Linked DNA regions of Homo sapiens: all the other regions are linked to region 2. Evidence: promoter capture Hi-C in human tissues and cell types (Jung and others, 2019). All regions are on one chromosome and are shown on one strand. Each heading gives the region's core, a stretch centred on a gene start or on the middle of the fragment in contact. The rest is flanking DNA. Distances are from core to core; before and after follow the strand shown. Region 1 overlaps LINC00693 (long intergenic non-protein coding RNA 693). Region 2 holds the start of RBMS3 (RNA binding motif single stranded interacting protein 3). Region 3 overlaps RBMS3 (RNA binding motif single stranded interacting protein 3).

What was found. Contacts are between HindIII fragments. The study calls those that stand out against the background at their distance.
Region 1: a fragment that was not itself captured here is called in contact with the fragment with the promoter of RBMS3 in region 2 in 1 of the 25 tissues and cell types used here (spleen).
Region 3: a fragment that was not itself captured here is called in contact with the fragment with the promoter of RBMS3 in region 2 in 3 of the 25 tissues and cell types used here (H1 embryonic stem cells, dorsolateral prefrontal cortex and heart right ventricle).

Annotation. Positions count from the first base shown.
Region 1 is chr3:28,744,506-28,748,149 of GRCh38, reverse strand. The region is part of intron 2 of LINC00693 (long intergenic non-protein coding RNA 693); the gene reads right to left. Among named protein-coding and RNA genes, the nearest start is that of LINC00693, 170 kb to the right of the region's middle. The HindIII fragment of the contact is 4,833 bases long and covers 1-3,644 here.
Region 2 is chr3:29,279,806-29,284,011 of GRCh38, reverse strand. It overlaps RBMS3 (RNA binding motif single stranded interacting protein 3), which reads right to left and starts at 2,941. Exons shown (of 15, transcript NM_001003793.3): 1 at 2,256-2,941. The coding sequence starts at 2,330. RBMS3-AS3 (RBMS3 antisense RNA 3) reads left to right here and starts at 3,073. Exons shown (of 3, transcript NR_109804.1): 1 at 3,073-3,281. RefSeq lists an enhancer at 4,037-4,086. The HindIII fragment of the contact is 9,133 bases long and covers 1-4,206 here.
Region 3 is chr3:29,890,998-29,894,639 of GRCh38, reverse strand. All of the region lies in intron 8 of RBMS3 (RNA binding motif single stranded interacting protein 3), which reads right to left. Among named protein-coding and RNA genes, the nearest start is that of RBMS3-AS1, 41 kb to the left of the region's middle. The HindIII fragment of the contact is 5,217 bases long and covers 1-3,642 here.

The DNA of each region.
Region 1 (3,644 bases), core at 183-2,682, 530 kb after region 2:
CAAACCATTTTTCTCACTAATATGTGTGAATGTAGCAGAGAATGTTGGTCCCTTACTGTATCCCTCAGGTCTTACAAAGACCAGCCTTGAAACTGCCATTAACTGCATCTCTTTGCATGAGGTTTGTTTTGTTTTGTTTCTCGAGAAACTATTCTGTCCAGGTATGGTGATCTATGAATATCTGGGTATTAACTCACCTTGAGAGGAGTCCTCAACCAGTTACTGATAGGAGTCCAGGGCAAATGTTCTAAATTATTTCCCAGAATTTTTTCATAGGCTTTAGCTCTAGCTGTGCACAGTCATAGCTGGCTCCATATCATACCCTTTGTTGTCTGCCTTACTTTTCCTGTCATTCTTTCCCTCTCTTCTTACTGGCATTTGCTATACCTCCCAAATAAACTACTTGCTCTCAAGTCCTTGTCTCAGGGTCACTTCTGGGGGACTAAAACTAAGCCAATAGAAAACTACCTTTTTCTAATTCTAGTCACTTCAGTCATTTCAGAAATGCCTTAACTTTATGTACATATAGATATATGTATACATAAATATGTATTTCCAGTCTATGTCAATTGAATTTATAAATAACTATATATATATATATATATATGCAGCTGACATTTAAGTTTTTATATATTTTGTTGTGTGCTGGTTTTGTCTTTCCTGTAAGTTGATAAGATGCTCAAAGGCCAGGAGTGCAGCACCTCCTTCTTCTATAATTTTACACGATGCCTGGTGTGATGCTCCACAGAGTGAATATTCATTTAACCAGGGCTGAGAGACAAGGGGCCATGGAGGTCAGGTCTGTTTGTCCTGCGGGCTTGTCAAGGGTGAGAAATCTCCTAAGATAAAAAAATTGTGATGCTGTTTCCAACCCTTTGAAGGATGAACCTGGAAGCCTAAAATGAGAGCTGGCCCTGAGACAGGGCACCAAGTCAGAACATCAGTCCTGTGGCACATGCTATGCCCTCCAGGCCACTGGGACATGAAATCCTGTGTAATCAGATACGTTCTCTTGACCTGTTTCTGAGTGACAGTCCAGTTTGGGGTGAACTGGGCTACATGAGCTAGACAGACCAATGTGAGGCCCATTTCTGGGAGAACTTTCCTAAAAACCCTGGGCCTTTGCTGCAAATCAATAGAATTATTAAATATCTCAAAGCATATTACAGAACAGGGTGCTAATAGGTGAGGGTCCAATATAGGTAAAGAAGAGGTCCTACTTTGACCCACCTTACACTCCAGAAGTGAAATATTTATGGGGTACTTAATAGCGGTGAGCGATGAGTAATACTAATGCCACTAACCGCAAATACCTTATTTTTGCTTAGGCCTCTCATCTCCCTCTTGGGCCAGGAGGACTTTATGGCATTTCCACTTGTCTATTTCCCTTCCTAACTAGAATAAAGGCTAATTTATCAAACATTCTAAACCTGGAATCTTTATTAACTAGCTCCCCCAGGACACAAAGATTCTAAAGGACCTTCTGAATCAAACAAAGGTGAAATGACACTCGGTGTTATTTCAGAGTTGAGTATTTTGTTGCATTATTTCTAAGCCTTTTACAACTGACAATCCAGATAAAGTATTGATTAAACAGATCACTCTGCATCCTCAACTTGGCTGCTAACAGAGTTCACTGTAATATAGTTTTGGCCCTTGTTGGTTGAGTCTAGTGCCTCAAGAGCAAATTACCACCGAAGACCTCACACACTCAGCACCTCACAGAAACCTTGCCGTGACTCCAGGTGCGTGGGGCAGGCCTGCCCACAGAATGCAGCCTCCCACAAGCTGTGAGATTCTAAAAGAACTTTTCTAAGGCTTTTTCTGAGGAAAGCACACCAACATATGGCTTTATATGAATCCTGCTGATTGAGGAAACTTTAGATTCTACAGAAGCTTTCTAAAAATAATTCCAATTTGAATAGAAAGTCGAGTCCTTTACAGAGCCCAGACTGTTTTGTTCTCCCATCACATGGGAACTTGAAGAGGCCACAACAATGACAAGCAGACAGAGCAATGTGTAATTCATCCAGAAATGAACTGCCAACAGAATTACAAACAGCTGTCACAATGGCTGGGATAAAAGCCAGAATTAAGAAGGGCATGGAAGGGAAGCACAATAATAACCAGAGACCTCTAAGCACCAAATGTGAAGGCACACAGAACATATTCTCGTGACCTTCCTCTAACTTCCACCTCCATCCACGCAGAATGCTTCATCTGACAGTCAGATAAATTCACTTAGAAAATAAATCATCATTTACATACAATGTATTGAAAATAGACACGAGCCAGAACAACCAAGTTTCAGAGTAAAGTACTAGAAGAGCTGATCAATTCAAAAGTGTTTTGCACATTCTTTAGAGAAGAAATTTGCCGCTAAATTTTCTCATATATGCATGAGAGATGCAATACCAAGGAATGTTTAATTATACTCACCTTCAAAGCTACATGTCTACTGAAAGAAAACTGTGGCAAAATAGAAAACAGGAAACACATTCCATAAGGCTGATTCACTCTCTGGGATTTTTACATGTAGGAGTGCCATTATCGCATAAAAATGGTATCTTGTGTTGCCAACAATATTACCCATACATACGGAAGACTTCAGCACTTTCTTAGGAATCGCATTAAAAACATACCATACTATCCCAAATTGTGCTCAAGTTTGCATAGAAGTTATCATTGGCTATTTAACCTGTAGTAAGTTATTAAACATTACCCCTTGGTAGTCTCATTAATGTCTAAAGTACTTGAATATTAAAGATTACCTTTTATAAAGTCACTTCTAAATCAGCCCGGTCTCTACTCCTAAGGCAGCTTAACATCTCTTCACCTTAGTTTTATATCATCCCTTTTCTTTCACCTCAAAAATACATTTGTCCTTGAGAAGCTCTAGGTGTTATTAATGAAGAATGGATACGGGAATATTTATCATGTTAAGTGTTTTTATGATGCTGATGGTGCTTCGAAGAAGACTAAGGCTCTTACATAAACACTGTTGTACACATTTCTGACTTTGCAACTAGAGTATGTACTCCCTGAAAGCTGAGGCCATCCCTTCTGCATGCTCTTTTTGTAAGCTTCATAATGCCCAGCAGAATGCTGGAGACTAAAGTGACTATATTTTCTGAATAAAAAATTAGATGGTCTCTGCAAGGAGATATTTTGCAGTTCTGACAAACCAGGATTAGGTATCCCAATGCTTCCAAAAATAGGTTCCAGACAAGTATTCCTGATAATAAATGGTGCCAATGATTCACCTCCTGGAGACCTTCCCATTTTTTTCCATTTACTCCTCTCCTAATTTTACCTGTAACCTACTGCTGGAGGTGGGAGGAGATGAGGAAAGGAGAGTAAAAGGAGACAATTTTCTCTAAATGACTTCCAGCATTCCTAGCTCTATATCTGAAGAATGGGGGCTCTCAACAAAGTCTTAAATGTAAGATTTTATTTAAGATGCAGCTTACTGATGCCAATACTGCAAGAATTTTGCCAGATTATCACAACTGGGGAAGGAGGCCTTAGGAGGCTGTTGACCCACAGGGTAAGACAGAGGCCAGACCCAGGAGTTTTTGGTCTTCTAAACTTAATCCTATCCCTCTTGAACCTTTGCATACTGATGCTCACAGGAAATGAAGAAG
Region 2 (4,206 bases), core at 1,692-4,191:
GTTACACTGAAACATGATGGTACTTCATTGTATAGTATTAACCCTGTCAGAAAATCCCCAGTACCCACATTTTAAAATATGATTGCACATTGACTCTTCATCTCATTTCCTCTCTATGCAAGTTTCAAAACAGGGCACATTTTCTCATCTTCAGCTTCCAGGAATGCTATTAATGTCTGTCATTTCAGAGCCACCATAACAATACAGGACAACTTCAAAGCATTGTCAACATTTTACAACATAATAATCAATGTGAACTACCATGATAGGCAAAATAGCTGATCTTATATTCCCTACTATCCTGATCTGATTATCCAAATATCAACATAGGACGCCTAATGGATCTAACTTCTTTAAAAATGTTCCAGAAGTTCAAGGTGTTGGCTAGCTTGAGAGTAACAAGATCCAGATGCCGCCTGTCTATACAACACTAAACTACATAGAACTCCAAAACAGATATCTACAATCTCCCTATTTTTCAGGCTCCTCTCTTTTCCCTCACTACTCCACTCTCTCTCTTTACCCCCCATCTTTCTCTCTCTCGCACACACTTTCTACTAGTATAGCTCATCCAGCAGCCTGTGTCTTTGAAAAAATGTGCATAACATTCACTATTTCCTGTTAGTAATAGGTTAAAAGAAGTCTCAAACAGAAAAACAATTATGTTATTCATTTCAATCTAAAGTTTCTTTTCTGAATATATACCATAGTAGAAAACAAGGACCCGAAACAAAGTGTAATTTTTGAAACACTTGGAAAAATGTAGCCAAATGAGTAAAAGGGATGGAATGTCTGATATTTTTCATGCAACCTTTGAGTTTATTGTTTTTGTTTTGTTGAGGCATGAGAAATGACTGTAAATTTTCCCCTTTTAACTTGTCCTTGCTCTGCCATTTCCTTGAGGAATGGCAGGCAGCATTCTCAACCTAACACCCCCAAAGAGTTAAAACTTAAGGCACCGAGCAGGAGGGCTAGTCTATTTAAGCATCAGCAGCACAAACTAAATGCTCACAAAGGCAAATAGCAGTGTGAGTCGACCTTGGAGGGGCAGGGTGGATTACAAAGCAATTGAAAAAGAAAAAAACAAAGCAATAATCTTTTGTATAATACTGAAAGTCTGCTTCCCAGTCTGGTTTACAAATAGGCGTTGCTGGACGAGACAAAATAAATGACAGATAACTACAGCATGAATTACCTAACCCTAATCACATCACCGAGTCCTGGTGACAGCATAGATCATTCAGGCACGCCTTGTTCACTCTCGGCATATTTATTTATTAAGGAGACGGTGGAGTCTGGCTAATGCTAATGCAATACAAAATAATATCACCCGTACACTCGAGGTGGTCACTCCGCTAACATGTTTTCCCCCTAATCAAGTCCAATTTAATTGACAAATCGGAGCAGTGATTTCACACCTGAGAGTCTTTCATGTCTTAACTGCAGGATAAAGTTCAGGGTAGGTACTGCCCACTGCTTACTTACGTGGGCTTGCCTCTGGGCCCCTAATGGTCATTTGACACACACACATAAAGCCTAAAGTATTTAACCAATTCAAGTCCAATTATGATCAGTTACATTTCATTCCTTTTCAAGACTCAGGCCTCCTCATGGCAGCTACACAGAAAAATAGATCTTCTAAAAGTAAAGAACATCTATTGTAAAGCAGTCTGTAGCATGCTGATCATCCTCAACATAAAATAAAATAGGCAAGGCAAATTAAAAATAAAAATAAACTCTCAGAGACTCTGGTAGGAGCCCTATACCTTCTCACACCCTTCTTTCATTCTATACCCTGCGATTAAAAGTTTGAGTTACCCCCACCGTTGCACGTCCTATCCAGTGGGAAAAACCCTTTTAGAGCCACAATCAAAGAACAGCTCACCAGAAAAGCCCCTGAAATTATATTCTTGTGCCTGGTAATCACTGTTGTGATCTGCTTTCTAAAAACCGTGCCCATCTGCAAAAGACGTTCCTGATATCAGGACCATTTATGCTGCCAAATAACAACAAAGAAACTGAACTCAAGTGAAACTATTATCTCTCCTTAAAGAGAAAGCTACAATTCCGGGTTTGCTGCTTTCTTCTTATGTCTTCCTCTGCCTCATTAACTCCATTGGTATGTCACTAATTTCAAAGAAGCAGGAAGAAGTGATGGGGGTGGGGGTTAACTAATAATTCACACGCCTGTCTGTTTCCCATCCCAAGTGCAGAACGATACCACGCTGATCGCCAGACCGTGGGTCAAGCCATACCTTGGTTTGGAGATAATGAGGATAGTAGTAAGTGTACTGGGGGTACATTTGTGGCTGATCCAGGCGTTTGCCCATGTAGCTGGAATCTTTATCTCCGAGGCAGGGAACTGGATGACAGGGTATAGTGCCCCAGGCCGAGCTTCCTCTTAAACCACTATTCCTGACAGTCCCGGTGACTGATGAGGCTTCAGAGACTCCACCACTCGCTAGTTCCAACACAGCAAGAATTTTTTTAAAAAACAAAACAAAACAAAAAACACACACCAAAGGAAAAAAAAAAAGGGCGAGGAGTGAGATCTGTAGAAAAAACACCCACACACAGCCTTCCCAGATCTTGCCTGGCTTCCCCCAGCTGCCGGGGTCCACTTGGGATGAGGCAGTTTGTTCTCTAACCAGGCTGTCTGTAGTGATGTCAATTGCCAGCGTTCGTAAAGGGGGAAAAAAATCAAAGTCCTTTTAGCACAACTCCGAATCCTTGCAGATCAGCTTCCTGTCTCTTGGTTGTCTCTTTCCCCACCTTAAAGAAAAAGAAAAAAGAGAGAGAGAAAGAGAAAGAAAGAAAGAAAAAGAAAGAAAGAAAGAAAAAGAAAGGGGAAAAAGAAAAAAAAAAAGAAAAAAAGGAAGAAAAAAAAAAAAAAAAAACCTTGTACAGCTTAGTTGCTGCTGTCTCCCTCCCAGAGTGACATGGTGTTCGGGGCTTGTCCTGTCCTTTCATTCACTTCCCCTCCTTCCAGCCGGTGGGTGGAACCGAGAGAGCCTCTCCAGGGAGCAGCGTACGCAGTCCAGAAGGCTGCAGTATTTCCTCCAAGAAAAAAAAAAAAAAAGGCTGCTTCAACCCCTGCTGCAAGCAAAGTTCCGATTCCCTCTGCTGGCTATCTCGAATAGCAAGCGATTTTTGCAGCAACGCTGCTGCCGCTGGAACTGAACCTGAAGAACTCAAATGCGGGCGGTGGATTATTTCTTATCCCTCCTCCATCTACCCCACACAAGAGCTGCTTTTTGTTCCTCTTTTTGCCAAGTTCCAAGGTAAGCCACACTGCTAAACAAAACACAGAAGAGAGGGAAGAGAGGACGAAAGAAGGAAGGAGGAGAAAGGAAAAGAAATAAAGGCAGGGGAACTAACCTTGCTGGTTAAAGGGGAAAAAAGTAAGTCCCGGATGCTTTCAAAATCTGTTAACACGCTAGAGCCAGACGCATCCAAGAGCTGATTGAGAAACTAACCTTTTACTACCTGGAAAACTTGGTGGATGTTAAGTATTGAAGAAATTTTAGGGTCTACTCCAGGACTACTATTAATGCCACATGTCATCAGATTGGACTGATCAACTGAACATATCAAAAATAATAACTTTTTTAAAATACATCCATTTTGTAAAAAAAAAAAAAAAAAAAATCAAAGGAAGTGACCCCTTAGGTTCGTCAGATATTTTACAGATAAAATCTGTTTCTCCCATTGTCTCTCTCTTTATGATTATTTTGTTGCATTGATGCTTTAATCACTTTACTGATATCATCTAAAAAAAAAAGAACAAAAATCATAATTGCTTGGCAGAGTTTTTTCCCACCAATGATAATATTCTGTCATGTCTATCAGCTGCTACATTATAATACAAATTGTTTCAGATAAAATATATTTCCTTAAAGGGTCCCTTTTCAAGGCGGGCGAGGCTAAAATTAGATGTGCCAGCTGTGTTTTGCTGCGAGTGCTCACGCATGCCCAAAGCGTGGGCAGACCAATACTGAGCTCTTTTCTACTTTGTCAAGTCGGCTCTGTTCTCCTGAGCCCAGAGTCTCCTATTTAGATAAAAGGTCCCTGGTACAAATCCAGCTTCCTAGTCAAGAAGAACAGAGAATTTGGGCTCAGTGCACACATGGTGTCCATCCACATACAAGCCGCACCACCCCTAAAGCAACTGGCTTCCACCGAGGGGAACTGGTTTCTGGAAGCTGT
Region 3 (3,642 bases), core at 1,033-3,532, 610 kb before region 2:
AACCCCTACTGTGGTTGTCTTTGGAGATGGGGTGTCTAAGGAAGTAATTGGGGTTAAATGAGGACATAAGCGTGGGGCCTTAATGAAATAGGATTAGTGTTCTTTTAAGAAGATACTTCAGACAGCTCACTCAGGCTCTCTCACACGCACACACTGAGGAAAGGCCATATAAGGACATAACAAGATGGTAGCCCCAGGAGTTTGAGACCAGTCTGAACAACATGGTGAGACCCCATCTCTACAAAAATACAAAAATTAGCTGGGCATGGTGGTGCATGTCTGTATTCCCTTCTACTTGGGAGGTGAAGTGGGAAGATCATTTAAGTCCAGGAGATTGAGGCTACAGTGAGCCATGAATGTGCTACTGCACTCCAGCCTGGGCAAGAGTGAGACCTTTTCTCAAAAAACAAACAAACAAACAAACAAATGAAAAAGATGGCAGCCATCTACAATCAGGGGAAGAGAGCCTTTACCAGAATCGGCTACATTGATCTTGAATTTCTACCATTCAGAACTGAGGAAAGATAAATTTTTGTGTTTAAGCCACCAAATCAATCAAGCCACTTTGTTATGGCAGCCTGAACTGACGAATACAATGTATTTATTGACATTTCTCATTCTAGAATGTCAGCTCCAAGGGGGTTGAGTGTATATCAGTATTGTTGCCTAGAACAGAGCCTGGGAGATAGTAGATACTTGATAACTCTATGTTGAATGAATGAATGAATAAATGCAGAGCAGCTTATGGAATTCAGTAGTGATTACCATACAGGAAGATCAATACCAGGGTGGCAGGACCATAGGAGAAGGGTCCCTGAAAGAGGTAGGAAGCTGAGGAATGAGAGCCCAGAGAAGATGGTCCAATATCACATATTAAATGCTAAGTGGAAGCTTAAATAATATACCAAATTTCTAAGCATGCAGGGGCATTAGAAACTAGAAAAAAGACAGTCCTTTTCTATGAAAAATCAAGGTTTGCATTTGAAAATTCCTTCTAGGTCTTATATTTGACAGATCTTATTTGTAAGGCAGTGAACAGTATTTGGGGCTCATAATGACACGTGAGGCACCCAAGGCCACTCAATAAACAGTCTTCCTCATATGCCATGCAGTGGTTTAACTTCTGGTAGAAATCCAGGTTCAGCCTCTTATACAGACAAAGCAAACCACACATTACATTTTAGCGTGGCTGGTCGACTTTGTAAAATGCGCCAATTGGAGTATTAAAAATGAAAGCAATAAAGATTGGATTGACAGGCAAAGTTTACAGGAAATTCTATGGGGAAAACAGAGAACAGAAACATAAAGAAAGCAGCCAAGTAAACGGATACTAGCAAAAGGAACCCTTGGGGGAAAATTTAATGCATTTTTGTCCTATCTGCTCTAATCCTATCCATCAAACAAGAATTACATTTCATACTTCCCAGCAAATTCCAATACTGCCACTCAAGTCAGAGAGTCATTTAGAACTGAAAATGTTCTGGGAAGAACAGAATCGGCATACCGTCTTGATCTCCTAATTCTGGTATTCTGAAATAAGCTCTTCTCAAGTCCAAACATACACCAGATGAATTTACAGGAAACCCCTGCTTAAACCATGACAGGAGAGGCTACTGTTGCATCTGAGGCTTAGAGGTACCTATCTAAAGAAAATACACAAGGCCAGACTCCAAGGAGGGAACTGCAGAATGTGTTTCCAAATCTCTTAGCTTTTTTTCAGTCCCTGCCATGGTCAGGGTTTGAAAACATTTTCACACAGGCATCACATTAAAAATAAATAAATAAATAAATAAATACATACATACATACATACATACATACATACATACATACATACTTCAAGCAGAGATGTCATGCTACTGGGGAACTTTCTAGGCAGAATAACAAAATAAGGTAATTCTAAACATATGAATTTATGTTTTTTGTATTTGGTAATATATGCATTATGCATTATGCCTTGCAAATGTTGTTACAGAAAATGGGAATGAGTTGCTTAACAAGTTATTTTCCTGTTAAAAAAGTTTACTTCTTCACCAAGATTCACAGCATTATGTATATACCAAGTGCCTCTTTTACACTGAACCCAGTGGTTCTAAGCCACAGGTGATTTTGCTCTCCAGCAGACATTTGGCAATGTCTGGAGACATTTTTTGTTATCGCAACTGGAGGAGAGGGGGGAGCTACCGGCATCTAGTGGATAAAGGCCTGGGATGCTGCTAAACATGCTACAATGCATAGAACAGCTCCTATACAAACATTATCGAGTCCTGAACGGTAGTAGCATGAAGATTGAGACACCTTGCTGAAGCACATGAGCTAGTTACTTCTGGGGTTTCTTTCACATGAACAAAATATTAAATGCAAAGTGGCTAAGAGACGTTAACTAAGTGTGATCCACGGAAGTCTAAGCTAGCCTTTGAAACACTTAGTATTTTCAAGAAATGCAAAGAATCACTTGGTTCTTTGGCATTAAAGGCAACCGTCCTCCAGAAATCCAGAAAATGCAAATCTAGGTCACTAATAGGACATTATTTTGCCTGCAGAAAAGTCATCTTCAGGGGATTTGGCGGTCAGTAGTAATATGGTAAAATCTTATTTCACTGACAATAAAAATAACATTAATATATCAATAACCCCAGGGTTTAATTTTTTTTACTGTACAAAAAGCAAATCCTATTTACATATTGAAATAAACAGCACTGGCTTGTGTTTCATGTCCACAGGCAATATTGTTAGGGCTGGAACCATAAATACTATCCTCAGGGTAAAACAATAGTACAAGATTAATAAGGTATTGGTCATTTTTATTGTAATACCAACGTATCCTTCACATTAGATTCCTTTCCTAGTGTAATAAGATAAGGTTTCCATATTGCTTAATACCAAATGCCCACATAAAGCAGCCAGCAAACCAATGCTATAGAAAACATTCTTTTTCACGTCTCCCCCAAGAATATATTTTATTCAAATAAAAACAATCCAAGAGGCTTTTATACAGCAACTCCCAATGAAAAGGGCACAGGAAAGATGAGATTTTGAATATGGGAGGGAATATTTCCCACCTCCCCTGCTCATCTTTCAAAGGGATGGAATTTCATATTGGATTGCTAAAAGAGCAATAGGGCAATAGTAAAAACAAATTAGAGTTTTACCACATAGCTCTAAGAGAATGGACATTTTTATTCTTGTAAGTTAGCCTACAGTAAAAAGTACTACGATTTTTACTTTTCTGTTGTGACACAGATGCTTCTTCTCTCTACCCTTCAGAGTCCTAGAGAAAAGTGATATTGATCTAATTTTTAAGTGATAACTTGGATAGATTCAGGCAGATGACAGAACTGACATTTTCTACTGCCTAAATGCAAACAGCACAGATTCACCATGGTGTAGTTATGAACTGTTTGTTCTTCCTTAGCTAACAATCAAGCTAACTTCGGGGGCCTTTATTTCAGTGTCATGTTTCTGTATTAATGTGAAGGTTATGAGATACAGACCGTTTAACTCTTTACACAATTTAACCTACTAGCTACAACTCAGACACATACTTGCTTAAGATACTAAAAAAGCCCTATGGCTTAGTTTACTGTTACAGGATTCCATAGGATCACAAAATATGTCATTTAGCTAGGATGTGGCACCTCT